Linked DNA regions of Homo sapiens: region 2 is linked to region 1. The links are contacts of gene promoters, found by promoter capture Hi-C in blood cells and fetal thymus (Javierre and others, 2016). All regions are on one chromosome and are shown on one strand. Each heading gives the region's core, a stretch centred on a gene start or on the middle of the fragment in contact. The rest is flanking DNA. Distances are from core to core; before and after follow the strand shown.

Region 1 (7,283 bases), core at 4,630-7,129:
AATATATAAATGTTTTTTACCTAAATCTTTTTTATATAAATATATAACATATTTATATAATATATAAGGATATATAATATCTATAAATATACATATTTTTTCATATATATATGAAAAATATATATATATATTTGCCTTTCAGGTCACTTTTATTTAAAAATAAACAGTAGATAAAAGTAAAAGTAGGTCGGGTGCAGTGGCTTACGCCTGTAATCCCAGCACTTTGGGAGGCCAAGGAGGACGGATCACGAAGTCAGGAGTTTGAGACCAGCCTCGCCAACATAGTGAAACCCCATCTCTACTAAAAATACAAAAAAAATTAGCCAGGCATGGTGGTGTGCACCTGTAGTCCCAGGTACTTGGGAGGCTGAGGCAGGTAGAATCACTTGAACTTGGGAGGCAGAGGTTATGGTGAGCCGAGATCGTGCCACCTGGGTAACAGTGAGACTCCGTCTCAAAAAAATAAATAAATAAATAAAGTAAAAGTAGTACCTGATGCCCTATTAGATATTACATTCATGTTAGTAGATGCCATTTTCTGCCTTTTTCACATTAATATTTATTTTTATAAGGAGAGTAGTATTGAAAAAGAATGAATGAAAGATCGATAGATTAATAAGTAGATTAACTGATTGGTTTGTCTGTCAATCAGTTTGAGAGCTAGAGCTAGAAATAAAACCTTAATGAGGGTTGCAAACCTACATGCCCATATGAACCAGCCAAACAACATGCAGGGTAGGTTATATATATATTTTAAAGTTAGCACTTAATCAGATAGGGTTTTTTTCTTTTTAATTTCCTACATATTTACAATTGCTTTTCTCTTTTTCTCCTTAGGGCTATTCCAACCTGGAGACAAGGAATACAGAGAAGAGTATGAGATAATCAAATTGCTACTCAGTTGATAAGAATGTTAACATACTAAGTTATACCAGGGAGAGAGTGACTAACCACATTCTTTAAATATCAATAGCTTAGTCAGATTGATTATTGTGCTATATTGTGAATTGAGAGGTATTAAGTTTCATGAGGCTTTGTCATTAGTATTCCTGCTTCTACCAAGAAGGTATTTAATATATGTGTTGGCCTATTATTGATGTAAAAGTTATTTAAATAAGTTAATGTTAGAAACATTATTCAATTTAAATACTGAAAACATTTCAAAGAGATTTTGTTTTTGTTATAGCATAGCAAAGTAAATTGGAACAATCATACAATGACATTTTTTAAACCAAAATTTTGTAACTTTTATAACTTGGAGTTAAGTTAGCTTGAGTAACAAAAAGGTAAAGTGGTTTTTGTTTAGAGTTACGAAATGTTAGTACTTTTTCTATGTTTAACAAATTGGCAGTTTGTCAGTTATGACATTTTTGTGTAATAAATATTTTGTATTTGTTTGAAGCATGCTTTGTTTTATATAGAGAATATTTATTTTAAAAATATGTCTCTCATATACCCTATTAATTGTATTATTGATATAATCTTTTTGGTTTCCTTCAGCAATTCCAAATTTTCCTTCAGCCTTTCTGGATTTCACAGATTTATAAAATCTTTGTGTCTTTCACATCTTCCTGGCTAATGCAGTTTTCTTTTCTGCTTCTGTTTGCCTCAAAATAGGAAAATTCTTTGTTCTGAAACATCATCTGAAATAAGCCAGCTTTAAAATACTGTGATTTCTCTTGATGGCACTTAAAATGTTTTAGGTGGGGCATGGTGGCTCATGCTTGTAATCCCAGCACTTTCAGAGGTCAAGGTAGGAGAATTGAGGCCTGGAGTTTGACACTAGCCTGGGCAACACAGGGAGACCCTGTCTCTACAGAAAAAAAAAAAAAAAGTTTAATTAACTGGGTATGGTGGCACACACCTGTAGTCCCAGCTACTTGGGAGGATAAGGTGGGAGGATCACTTGAACCCAGGAGTTCCAGGTTGCAGTGAGCTACGATGGCACCACTCTACTCCAGCCTGGGTGAGAGAGAGACCCTGTCTCTAAAATGAATGAATGAAGGAATGAATGAATAAGATCTTTTAAAGCTGTTAGATTAACATATTTGGGCAAGAGTTAGTTCTTAAATTTCTAAACTTTTAGACATGAAAACACAATGTAATTGAATACAGTTCAACTTTTCATATTATAAAATATTCCTTTCTAACGTTATTTAATTTGTTCTCATAGGAAAGATACTATATACATAAAAACACAGGAAATTTATCTCTTATAAATCTTTTTTTATCTTAATCTTTCATTGTTTATCTTTATCTTTCATTGTTAATGGGATGCATTTAGGTTAAATGACTCAGTTAGAAAGGTACTATGAGTAGCGGTGAAAATCTTTTCTTATTTTACAGTTAATATTCAAAATAGATGGCTTCCAAATTTTAGAAACTGAATTCTGATTTGTACAGTTATTGGTGCAGAATGAGAAAATTGACATAAAAGATCCTTAAACAGGAGTGCTGATTTTGTTATCCAAAACTTTTTTGTAATGATTTGAAGTAGTTCAGAGATAAAATATAGAGGCTGGGTGCAGTGGCTCAGGCTTGTAATCCCAGCACTTTGGGAGGCCAAGGTGGGCGTATCACTTGAGGTCAGGAATTCAAGACCAGCCTGGCCAACATGGTAAAACCCCATCTCTACTAAAAATACAAAAATTAGCCTGGTGTGGTAGTTCACGCCTGTACTCCCAGCTACTTGGGAGGCTGAGGCAGGAGAATCGCTTGAACCCGGGAGGCGGAGGTTGCAGTGAGCTGAGATTGTGCCACTGTACTCCAGCCTGGGCAACAGAGTGAGACTCCATCTCAAAAAATAAATACATAAATAAAACACAGAGCAAGATGAGGAAATTAAAAGCAGAACTGAGAAGCTACAAGATACAGAAAATGTTTCTTACATATTGCTTTTTTACGTGTTGCTTTTTGTTGCACCGAAATGCAGCTTTCAAATTCCTGTATCCAAGGTAAGCATTCTGGATGATGTGATTCTTATGGCTTTGTTTTTTTATTTTTTTTTTAAATAAAGAAAAGTATGGAAGTTCCTCTGAAGAAATCAGTTTTTCTAGCTGAATCTGAAATAAATGATGAATTTATTATATAGATCCTTTATATAAAAGATGTAAGATAAACAAATATCTTCAGTTACAGACTTCATAGAAGTTACAGGTTCATAAACAAGATGTCAAATAAATATTTCTTATACTGGTTTAAAAAGTACATTAGCTTTTTCTCTGAGAAAACACCAAATCGCGGATGATGCCGGTGCAGCGGGGGACCTGGGAGGCCCGGAGGCCCGGGGGGCTCTGGGATGGGGAACTGGGGTCTCAGCCGGCCCTGGGATGGGGAACTCGTGTCGCGGCCATGGACGGGGCCGGGGCCAGCTGCAGAGCTCGTGGAGGCAAGACCAAGGACAAGGAGTAGATGGTTGTCACCAAGCTGGGCTGCCTGGTCAAGGACATGAAGATTAAGTCCCTGGAGTAGATCTATCTCTTCTCTCTGCCCATCAAGGAGTCTGTGATCATTGACTTTTTCCTGGGGCCTCTCTCAAGAAGGAGGTTTTGAAGACGTGCCAGTGCAGAAGCAGACCTGCACCGGCCAGAACACCAGGTTCAAGGCGTTTGTTGCCATCAGGGACAGTGGCCACACTGATCTGGGTGTTAAGTGCTCCAAGGAGGTGGCCACTGCCATCTGCGGGGCCATCATCCTGGCCAAGCTCTCCGTTGTGCCCATGCGCAGAGGCTACTGGGGGAACAAGATCGGCAAGCCCCACACCATCCCTTGCAAGGTGACAGGCTGCCACGGCTCTGTGCTGGCGCGGGTCATCCCTGCGCCCAGGAGCACTGGCATCGTCTCGGCCCCCATGGCCAAGAAGCTGCTGCTGATGGCAGCTATCAATGACTGCTACACCTCAGCCAGGGGCTGCACTGCCATCCTGGGCAACTTCGTCATGGTCATTTTTTATGCCATCTCTAAGGTCTACAGCAGGCTGAACCCTGACCTCTGGAAGGAGACTGTATTCACCAAGTCTCCCTATCAGGAATTCACTGACCACCTCCTCAAGACCCACACCAGAGTCTCCGTGCAGAGGACCCAGGCTCCAGCGGTGGCTACAACATCGGGTTGTACAAGAAAAATAAAATGAAGTAAGCCTGGAAACAAAAAAACTACATTAATAAGAAACATAGAAAAAACACTAAAGAAGAAATGTTATAAAGTACCCATAATTCCAGGGTAACTTTTTCAAAAAACATACCTACATATTTTTAAATTGTTACAGTCATACAGTACATATTAATTACTATGCTATAATTGCATTACACATTTTCGTACATTTCTACCTAATTCAAACATTATCATGTAATGGCTAAATAACACTCAATTATATAGATGTTCTATCATTCCCATTCTGTTATGCACATGCCAAAAATCTTGTAGGGATAAAATCACTCATGGAAAGCCTTTTACCGACCTAGGAGGCATTCTGTATTATCTCTGAATGAGTCCCACATTGCAAATTTTTCCTCTAGATTTGGATCAGATTGCTAGTCCTTGAGCTGAGAATCAGATGAAACATTTGGCTTCCCTAACTTAAGGGCCATGTTTATTAGAATTAATTTTCTGAGAATGTATAGAGTGTCCATAGCTGATTCCAGTAAGTTAAATGTGTATAAGACTCCACTTTAAAAATCTTCAGGCATTTGGGGGTATGTGTGCTAAGTGAGAGATCTTAATTTTAATAACAGTGGAAACTCCAGACTGGGCACACCTGAAGGGCAAGGACTGTGAGCTCCGTATTTGTAGGGAAGTACCGAGGACAGCCTAGAATCCGTCTGTGGCTGTTAAATGCGGCATTTTGTAAAGACATGCAGGAATACCTGTGAATAAGTAGTTAATAGTACCAAAAATTATTCAGAGCACTTTGGATTGTTGAATAAGTGTAAGATTACCCCAGCCCATAGAGTATAAGAATTACATTTTCTAAGAAAGCTAACAAAATTAAACCCAAAATTTTATTAGCTAAGTTGATCACAGGGAACCTAGTTTAGTTATATTATTGGGTGGATCCCCCCACCCGCTACTCAGGAATGCCTCATGAAAGTTTAAAGGGCATAGTATACCGGCTAAACAACTTAAATCCCTATTTTTGGAAAAAAGAACTAGAAGCATGTTTAAATTTTTTAGAATGCAGGTAATTGGAGAAGATATTGAGCTTATTTTGCTGTTGCAGATTGATGCACCATTGATTCTTGATAACACGTCGACTCAAGCAAAGTAAAATCTGTAAGATTTGTAAAAGAATGACGCAAGCAGTCATATATAGGTATGAATATGCATGTTGTATATGTTTGGGGGCATTATACACAGATTTTTAAGTGATTCCTGGTATCCAGAAAGGATTAAGATTAGGAAAGTCTCTGAGCTTTTGTAGTGTCAATAAACATTTATCTCCACTGGTTTGTTTTTCTGTTTCCCTAACCGTTCGGCTTAAAACTGGCCCTCCAAAAATGAATCTGTTAGCAAGTTTATACTGATCCATCCTCGTTTTCAGATATACCATCCTCAGGTTCTACAGAGCCAGAATTGTCTCAAAGCGTACTTGATGCTTTTGACCTTGCGCTTCCCAAGATAAAAATTCTGACGGAGGGATTTGTGGACTTGATTTTCACAAGGCCTGCGAGGTGTTTACAAGCCTCGAGGGCTTTGAGTAGAAAAGGTAGGGTCATGCGCTAGCTAGGGAGATATCGGAGAGAGGAAGTGCTGCACAGGACCCAGATGATAGCGGTTTCAAATACTGGCTTAGTCTGCGGCGGGCGCAGGTCCCCTCACCCGGCACCCTGTGGTTCAGCACAGGAGGGTTCTTTCTCTCCGCGGGCACTGATTCCGGGTCGCGGCGGACGTCGCTTCCGGAGCAGCATGGCGGCCACTGAGGATGAGAGGCTAGCAGGGAGCGGTGAGGGAGAGCGGCTGGATTTCTTACGGGATCGGCACGTGCGATTTTTCCAGCGCTGCCTCCAGGTTTTGCCGGAGCGCTATTCTTCACTCGAGACAAGCAGGTAACTCGTGGCACAGTCAGCCAGGCTGGCACAAGGCCCGGGCTCCAGCGGAAAGGCGCGGCGGAGTCGGACCGCAAACTGGGCGCCGGAAGGGGGCTGCGCGGCCGCCCAGTTGGCACTGACTGGTTTCAAGTGGGCTTGAGGTTACCCCCACTCTCCCGCCGTACGGTGGGAAGGTCTGGAAGGCTGTAGGTCGAGGGCTGTGGCATCTCCAGTTTCCGGCTTTTTCACTTCCCTTTTCTTCTGGCAACTCTGAGCTGCTTTTTTACCCGCTCCCATAGCCTGTCACTTTGCCTCATTACTTCCGAGTGTAAAAGGAAAAGGACAAAGTTTGTCGTCGTATTTTTAGATGAATACTTCTGTGCATCCTTGTCCTCTCTAAAGTCATTAACTCTTAATAGAGTGTCTGTATGGTGTTTTATGTGTAGGAGCGGCAGAGAACCTCTAAGGTCTTAGAAACTTTGTGGGAACTATAAATCTAATGGTAGGCGAAAGAGGTGTGGTGTTGCGTGAAGCAGCCTGTTAAAAGTATCGCAATAGCTGAAGAGTGTGGTGCGGCAGAGACTAAGCGACTTCATTTACAGTAAAAGCTGGGGATGAGAAGAAAGAAAGGAGAAGGCAATCTTTGCTCCGCATTGCTGTGTTTTGAAGTGAAGCTCAAAAGCTGCTTGAGACTGGATGGGAGGAAAGAGCGGCTTGTTTTTGCTGTGTTCTTTCCCCACGTTTTCCAAATTCTGAGTTGCTGGTGTATTTTGAACACTGCATGACCGGATCAGTTTGGGGAGCTTTGCAGATTACTTCTGCACACTTGGTCAAGAACCACATTATGGTAGGTGCCAGAGTACAGCTGAACAAGACAAGCATTTGTATAGAGTTCTGTGCTATATGTTAGTGTAGTGTTCATAGGAGTATATAGACAGGCATGTACATAATCCAGATATCTTTAGAGAGGCCTTCCTTAAACACCCTTCCTAAAGGGACCACTTCCAATGACCACCTCACATTACGTATGTATTGGTTTATTTGTTTAATGTCTTTCTATTACACTGGATTATAAACTTCACAAAGGTAACATTTTCGTCTATCTTGTTTACCTCTATACTTAGGACTGGGCTGCCCTGTCCAATCTGGTAGCCACTAGCCACATTTGGCTATTTTGATTTGAATTAATTAAATCAAATTAAAAATTAAGTGATTCTTTTGGTAGTAGCCACCACATTTCAAGTACCCAGTTGCCAT
Region 2 (7,389 bases), core at 1,428-3,927, 170 kb after region 1:
ATTGGGCCTCATTGCAGGCAGGCCAAATCAGCATTTCCAGGGAAGGGCCCTGGAAAGCTGGATGTCCGATCAATATCTGTCAATTTATATCAGGTAAGTTTTGGGTGGGTGGGAAAATTGAGCGCGTAGGGGGATAACTATCAGCTTAGTTCTTACAAGTTTAGTTATTTTCTTGATCATTCAGCTACCAGCTTTCCTTTGGCACAGAAATATTCTCGGTTAAGCACACATTTTCTTTGTTTGCTTTGGATATTCTAAAATTCGTCTATTTTTCTGTGATGTATTTGTGTAGACCATGAAGGTAGGTAGGCAAGGCCAAACTTAACTTAGGTTTAGTCTGCCCATCTGAAATTTGGAGTCCAAACAATTCTCCTTTTGCTCTAATAGTGTATGTAATTGTGACACGAGTCAGAGAAATCCAAATGCCCACACCAGCAGTTGTCAAAGTACAGTCCTTAGAGGCTGGTTGGGCTACTGGGGAAACCAGGATGCATGAGGCCCAATCGACTTTAAAACTGCTTTTGTCTCTGGCAAATAATGAGTGTCCCTGTAAGATTTTAATTGAATAGGCTCTTCTACTAAAACCAGATACCAACAAAAATAACAATAGGTATAACTTTTAAGACCTGTGCCCTAGCTGATTAAAATACAATTTCTGATGAACCTCCCATTCTCTCTCATGTCCACACAAGATTAGAATGTAAGGCAGGCACCAGGAGAAACTCTTGAGATACAGGTTCTTTGGTGATGCTCAGTGGCATTTGGTCTATTTTCCAAGCTCCCGACTCCCTTACTATAAATCATGGAAAACTCCACAGATGTGAAAACCAAAGATCTCATATTCCAGAACAACTGATAATAACTATTCTATATGAAAGTGACCATGAGTCATATAATATACCCTGTTAAACACAAAATAAATGTATCCCCAACTCAACTTGCCCTTAGCCAGATTCCAAAATTGTCCTTGGCAACACCAGTGCCTTTTAACAGAAGGGAAGTCAAAGTGAAAAGACAAATTTAATAGAAGTCTTAGTTTTACCTTTGTAAATTTTACAAAAACATATGAACATGTGAATATCTTGCTAGTGCCCTTTCTGGAAATTTTGATGCTCCTGTGTAAGTGAGGGGCCTTGAAATTAAGCTTCATTAGCCTTATGGTAAATCCAGCTCTGGCCACTAATTCACCAAAATGTTTCCAGGTGCAGGTTGCCAATTCCAGTGGTCACATCTTGGTCCTCCTTTTACTCCAACTCTATCAGCATTGGGTTATGACCTTCTTATGGAAACACCTTTTCTGTTGATTTCCACAGCTTCTTCCTATTCTCCTGGGTTTTTCCTATTTCATAGGCTGTTCCTTCTCTGTCTACTCTGTGTGCCTCAGGGCTCAGTATTTGGGCCAAGAGAGAGTGAGCATTTGCACTCACTCTCTCATGATCTCATCTAGCCCTATTATTGTACCTATTGGTTATAAAAATATACCTTTCAAATTTATACCTCTGTCCTGGACGTCTCCCAAGGCTTGAGACGTGTAATTTATCTGCCCACTCACTACCCCACTTGGATGTCTAATGGGAATCTCAAAGTAATTGTGTTCAAAATGAAACCCAATTCCAAAATTATCTTCCCATTTTAGCAAATGCTTCCATTCAGTAGGTCAGTCTACAGCCTAGGACTCACCTCTTGATTTCTCTTTGCCTCTCATGTCACATAGGTCCATGAACAAGTGCATCAGTACTACCTTCAGAAAGTCTGAGTCCGACCATTTCCCCACTTTCCAACACAGCTGCTCTCATTCTAGACCATCACTATTTCTTGCCTGAACTCTTGTAATGGCTTCCATTCTGGTTCCGTGCTTCTACCCTTGTCCCATTATAACTTTTCTTCATCCTCTGCTCAGAATCTTCCAGTGCTTCCAGTCACATTTAGAACATAATTCAAAGTCTTATCAGGACTTGGAAGGCTGCCATACTGCGGTCCCCAGGCCAGCAGGATCAGTATCACTTGGGAACTTGTTAGAAATGCAAATTCGCAGGCCCCACCTATTGAGGCAGAAACTCTAGGGGTAGCCAGCAAAATGAGTTTTCACACACAGGGTATGCTAGTGAGACTGAGACCGGCTAAAATTTGAGAAACACAGTCCTATTACCTGTCCCATAGCTGGTTCTCTGACCTCCTCTCCTACCAGTCTTCCTCACTCATGGATATCCTGACTCACTGGCCTGGCTGTTCCTGGAACAAGTCAGATGAACTCCTCAGAGCTTTTGCACTTACGGTGCCTCAGCCTAAACTCTTCCCTCAGCCCTGTGGATGGCTGACTCCTTTGCTTCAGGTAGGCCTCTTGCTCAAGTGTCTTCTCCTCAGAGAGGCTTTCCCTGGCCACCCTTTCCAAAATCACACCACTTTTCCTTGTTTTTCTTCATAGCCCATGCTGCTGTTACCGGGGTGTCCTCGTTCTTAGAGCTCCCAGGATGGTGGTGGGCTGCTTCCAAGAAGGTGGTGGGCGGCTTCCAAGATGGTGGCAAGCCTCTTGTTCTCTGACCTGGGGTTCTTGGCCTCATGGATTCCAAGGAATGGAATCTTGGGCCATGCAGTGAGTGTTATAGCTCTATTCAGCTCGATTAGGACAAACCCCAGGCAGGAACAATGGGGAGCCTCTAGCCCAATTGGGTGCCGCCTCGCTGGATCAGAAGTGCAGCAGACACCCTGCCAGATCCGGAGGGGTGGAAGTCAGCAGCGGTGTCTGCAACGACAGCTATCAGCAGTGGTGGATGGTGAGGAAAAGCTCAATTCGAACGGGAATAAACACAGACCAGAGAGTGTGCAGTTGCAAGATTTAATAGAGTGAAAACAGAGCTCCCATACAGTGGGAGGGGACCCTAAGGGCGTTGACATTGCTGGCTGGAATGCCTGGGGTTGTATCCCGATCATTATCCATCCCCCTCTGCTCTCAGGTGATAGATGATTGGCTATTTATTTACCTCCTGTTTTAGCCGAATTAGCCTTTTAGTGAGCTGTCTTTACTAGCTGATTGGTCAGGTGTGAGCCAAGTTGCAAGCCCTGTGTTTCAAGGTAGATGTGGTCACCTTCCCAGCTAGGCTTAGGGATTCTTAGTTGGCCTAGGAAATCCAGCTAGTCCTGTCTCTCACTGCCAGCTGCAATGTTGTAGGTCTTCATTATCAATCTAAACTCCATGAGGTTAGGGATTTGATTTGTCCCCCTCTAGTCCATCTCCCGTGCTCAGAACACTGTCTAGCACACAGCATGAGCTCGTAAGTACCTGCTTCATGAATTACTGTACTGACACTATTTAAGTAGTGGAGGAGCCACTTTTTACTTCCCTCCCCCCTTTCCCCAGTAAAGCTCACCCAAGTATTTCTAGCTCCTTTATTCAATTGACCTTTGTAGATCTTGGCCAAGTTTAGGTGCATTTTTTTCCCCATATTTGTGAATCTGAGAGTACAGTGCAGAAGGGGAAGGGCTCTAGCTGTAGTGTCAGCAGGCTTTTCTTTTTACTTTGCTGTCTGGCTCTGCCTCAGTTGCTGACTTTGAGCATAGGTTTGAGCTCTATAAGTACCAGTTCCTACATTTGTAAAACAGGGATAATTATTCTCATACCCAAAATAGAGGTGAATTAAGGATTAAATGCATGAAAGTCACTTTCATAGTGCCTGACATTGGTAAGTGCTAAAGAAATGTTAGTTTTCTTTGGAACTTAGTGACCTTATGGCTAGGCATGGGGGCTCATGCCTGTAATCTCAGCACTTTGGGAGGCTGATGCAGGAGGATCTCTTGAGTCCAAGAGTTTGAGACAAGCCTGGGCAACATAAGGAGAGTCCCATCTCTATTAAAAAAAAAATTAGCCAGGCAAGGTGGCATGCCTGTAGTCTCAGCTTCTCATAGGGGTGAGATGGAAGAATTGCTTGAGCCTGGGAGCCTGAGGCAGCAGTGAGTGGTGATCCTGCCACTGCGCTCCAGCCTGGGCAACAGAGCTCCCTGTCTCAGGAAAAAAAAAAAAAATTTGTGATCTTGCCTTCTAAACTATGGAGATACCCCCAGAAAGTAATGAGAATGACCTGAATATCTGGTTTGCTGGGAGGTGGTTTAGAAGGAGGGAGAACCTCATCTGCTTAGAAAGCTCCTTTCAAAGCAGTATTACAAAGCAATTCTTTTTCTGAGGTATTCAGCATCTGGTGGCTTTGCAAGCTTTTAGCTTTTTATTTTATTTTCTCAGAAAAATATTTGTGCTTTTCTTGAGCTGCTGATTCACCTGTGACCAACTCTTTTTGTTGTGAAAACCCAGCAAGATATGCAAATGCAGAGGGCAGGCATGGCTGCAGGGAAGTTGGAAGCCCACCGCTGGGGCAATTATTCATCTTGGGGGAAACTCCTTTGAAATGGTGCATTTGTGGCCAGGTGCGGTGGCTCAAGTTGGGAGGCTGAGGCAGGTGGATAACCAGAGGTCAGGAGTTCCAGACCAGCCTGGCCAACATGGTGAAACCCCGTCTCTACTAAAAATACAAAAATTAGCCAGGCATGGTCGTGGGCCCCTGTAATCCTGGCTACTTGGGAGGCTGAGGCAGGAGAATTGCTTGAACCTGTGAGGAGGAGGTTGCAGTGAGCTGAGCCAGTACCATCGCACTCCACCCTGGGCAACAGAGCAAATATCTGTCACAACAACAATAACAACAACAACAACAACAACAACAACAACAAAGGTGCATTTGTGAAATTCTGAAGAAGCCCTGAAGGCTGAGGCAGTGAGTGGGAGGATATCTGCTAAGAAGTCGATGTCTGCAACCCTGTGTCTTTGCCAGTACCTTCTAAGCCAGCAAGTTACACCTTAGCGAGCACCTGCTCTAGAATCTATGCAGGTTTCCTTGTCAGTTCTCTCCCTTTCAGATGTCCCTGTGTGATGTGTGTGCCTGGGAGATATGTTGACCTTGGTACAACTAGAATGGTTAGAAATGTGTATTTGCCTCCTCCCAGGTTTCCCCTTTTTAGGGTTCTCACCTCATTTTCTAGTCTCAATTCTCTTTCCACTGGGGCCTTGAAAGGGTGATAGTTGGAAATGACTTTAGGCTGATATCCTTGTCCTTATTAGCATAAGAAACCAAAGGCGTTTGAGATCTTAACGAATTAAATTTCAAAGGCTGAATTTCAGAGGAGGAAATGAGAGGAATTATCTCCACTGGAGCCTTTCTAGGGCCCCTCAAATTACAGTATTGGTAGCTATCTCCCTCTGTGTAGCTATCAGTCCTTGAGAAATGCAAGGTATTGAATTGATTTCCTTTGCTCTTAGTTCAATCTGTTTTTGTTGTTTTTATTTTTATCATAATAATGCTTTCATATTATATTTTGTGATTACTTCTGAGCTTACCACAAAACAAAAACCATACAAACATTATAAAATTGTCAAAACATTAGCTTTATTAAAGACAGAGCTGTTATTGAATGATTCTCCTATTATTTATTTCCCCTGTAGCTTGCTAGATCTTTGTTAACTTTCAGGAAGCCCCAGAACACAGGGTTATAAGTTGTTCTATATTTTAAATGTGCCAGTTCAGCCCCAATATAACACTTTCCTTTCCTCATTTTGCTCAGTGTGAAAACATGGAAATGAAGCCATGCTTTTCCTGGATTTCTCTAGTTTCTAGCAGTTCTACTGTCACTGACAAATGCTGACTTCTTTTTACCAGTAGACTATTTAAATTTTCCTCCTAAGTCAGCATAGAGTTCCAGATATCTACTGAGAGCTGACAATCCTGTTCAGGGCAAATATGTTGGTGAAACTGATGAATAAAGATTATTCACCATCTGTCTTCTTTTTTTATTTATTAAGGATATTAACCCTTTGCCATATATATTGCAAGATTTTTTTCCCCCAGTTTCTTGTTTAGCTCTTGAGTTTTTCTTTTTTTGAGATTAAGGTGTCCCTGTGTTGCCCAGGCTGGTCTCTTATCTCCTGGGCTCAAGTGATCCTCCTGCCTCAGCATCCCAAATAGCTGGGATTACAGGAGCACACCACCACACCCAGCTCTGACTTTCTTTTTTGTAGTATAGTTTCCCCCCAAATGCTTTATACTTTTATATGGTAAATAATTAAATCTTTTTCATTTATGGTCTGGCCATTGGCATATGCTAATCTGTTTTTTCTCAGTAAAAGGAAAATTTCCAATGCCAGAGGCCATATAGGTCATTCTTATGGCTTAGTCACTTTCAGTCCCCCTGGACTCAGAAGACAGGTTATACTTAATTGTAGTTTGTGGGGTACAGGGTTTTGCTACTGAATATCCAAACCTGTAAGTCAAGCTTTTCTTCCAAACCAGGATTAATTTATGAGCATTGCATATTGCTAGTCTGGCTTCTCCAATCTAGGCTTTCTACAGCCACAGCCAGAATCAACTGAGCTTTCCCATCCTTTGTGAGTAAATGAGCAGCTTTGGGGAAAATAATTGGCAGTACTGAGGATGGTGGTGATCTTGCTGCAACCAGCAGATCTGTGACTGCTGAGAACAATGCTGCGCACAAAAGTCCAAACATAACAGGGAGTAATGTCACGCTTATCTCACTTGAACCCTGGGCACTTTAACACTCTAATTTCTCCCTCCTTAAAAAATGTTTTTCCTCAGCCCCAACAAGTGATGATCATCCCTGTATATTTCCATCCCAAGGATCTGTTTTTACTTACTTGTGGTTGTAATTAGAATAGACAAACAATTGTTTTTCAGTTAATATTGTAAACCATGCATCTTTCTGTATTTCTATGTACATATTTTCATTGGCCACATATTATTCTGTTAGTTGGAAAATATGATAATTTTCTTTGTCTTTTTATCTTAACCTGGGTTTCCCCCAAAAGTAGACTTTAGTCAAGGATTTGGGTGTAAGAAGTTGAATAGGAAGGTGATCACAGGATGCGGTGGGTGAACGTGGGGAAGTGAGCCAGGAAAAGGAAGAAAGCCATTGAGGCTGCACTAATAATGGGTTACTTTTTGAGGGTGACTGGAGCTCACTCTTATTAAGATCCTTCTAAGAAACTGTGGAAAATAATCCCAACATTTCCCACCAAGAGGTGAGAAAGCTGGGTCATTATCAGTTTCAGCTCTGGTTGACAGTCTCTGAGACATTAACTCCCTGGTACTTCCAGCCTGCCCCATGTGTGAGCCAAGCACAGTCCTGGGCTGGAGAGTGCCTGCGGGCTGAGAGGCACAGGAAGCCAGTGGACAGTAAGGGAGTTGTCTTCAGATGACCTCCAGGGTGTGTCAAGGGGATATGGGCAGGGCATGAGTGCATCTTTCACAGCACGTCCTTTGTATTGCTTATTAACGTGCCCATGTTAAGTTCACTCTGTCACTAATTCTTTAAAATGGCCTTAATCATACCCCT

Evidence for each region. Contacts are between HindIII fragments. The CHiCAGO score rates a contact against its expected background, and 5 or more counts as called.
Region 2: a contact is called between a fragment that was not itself captured here and the fragment with the promoter of PGGT1B in region 1, in 3 of 17 cell types (M0 macrophages, M2 macrophages and naive B cells). The highest score is 6.8, in M0 macrophages.

Annotation. Positions count from the first base shown.
Region 1 is chr5:115,261,473-115,268,755 of GRCh38, reverse strand. PGGT1B (protein geranylgeranyltransferase type I subunit beta) reads left to right here and starts at 5,879. Exons shown (of 9, transcript NM_005023.4): 1 at 5,879-6,044. The coding sequence starts at 5,905. CCDC112 (coiled-coil domain containing 112) reads left to right here. Exons shown (of 10, transcript NM_001040440.3): 10 at 838-1,566. The coding sequence ends at 880. It also overlaps the pseudogene RPS2P26. RefSeq lists enhancers at 5,761-5,810, 5,841-6,020. The HindIII fragment of the contact is 10,345 bases long and covers 1-7,283 here.
Region 2 is chr5:115,088,000-115,095,388 of GRCh38, reverse strand. No RefSeq gene overlaps it. Among named protein-coding and RNA genes, the nearest start is that of TRIM36, 78 kb to the left of the region's middle. RefSeq lists enhancers at 3,864-4,365, 4,366-4,865. The HindIII fragment of the contact is 3,062 bases long and covers 1,147-4,208 here.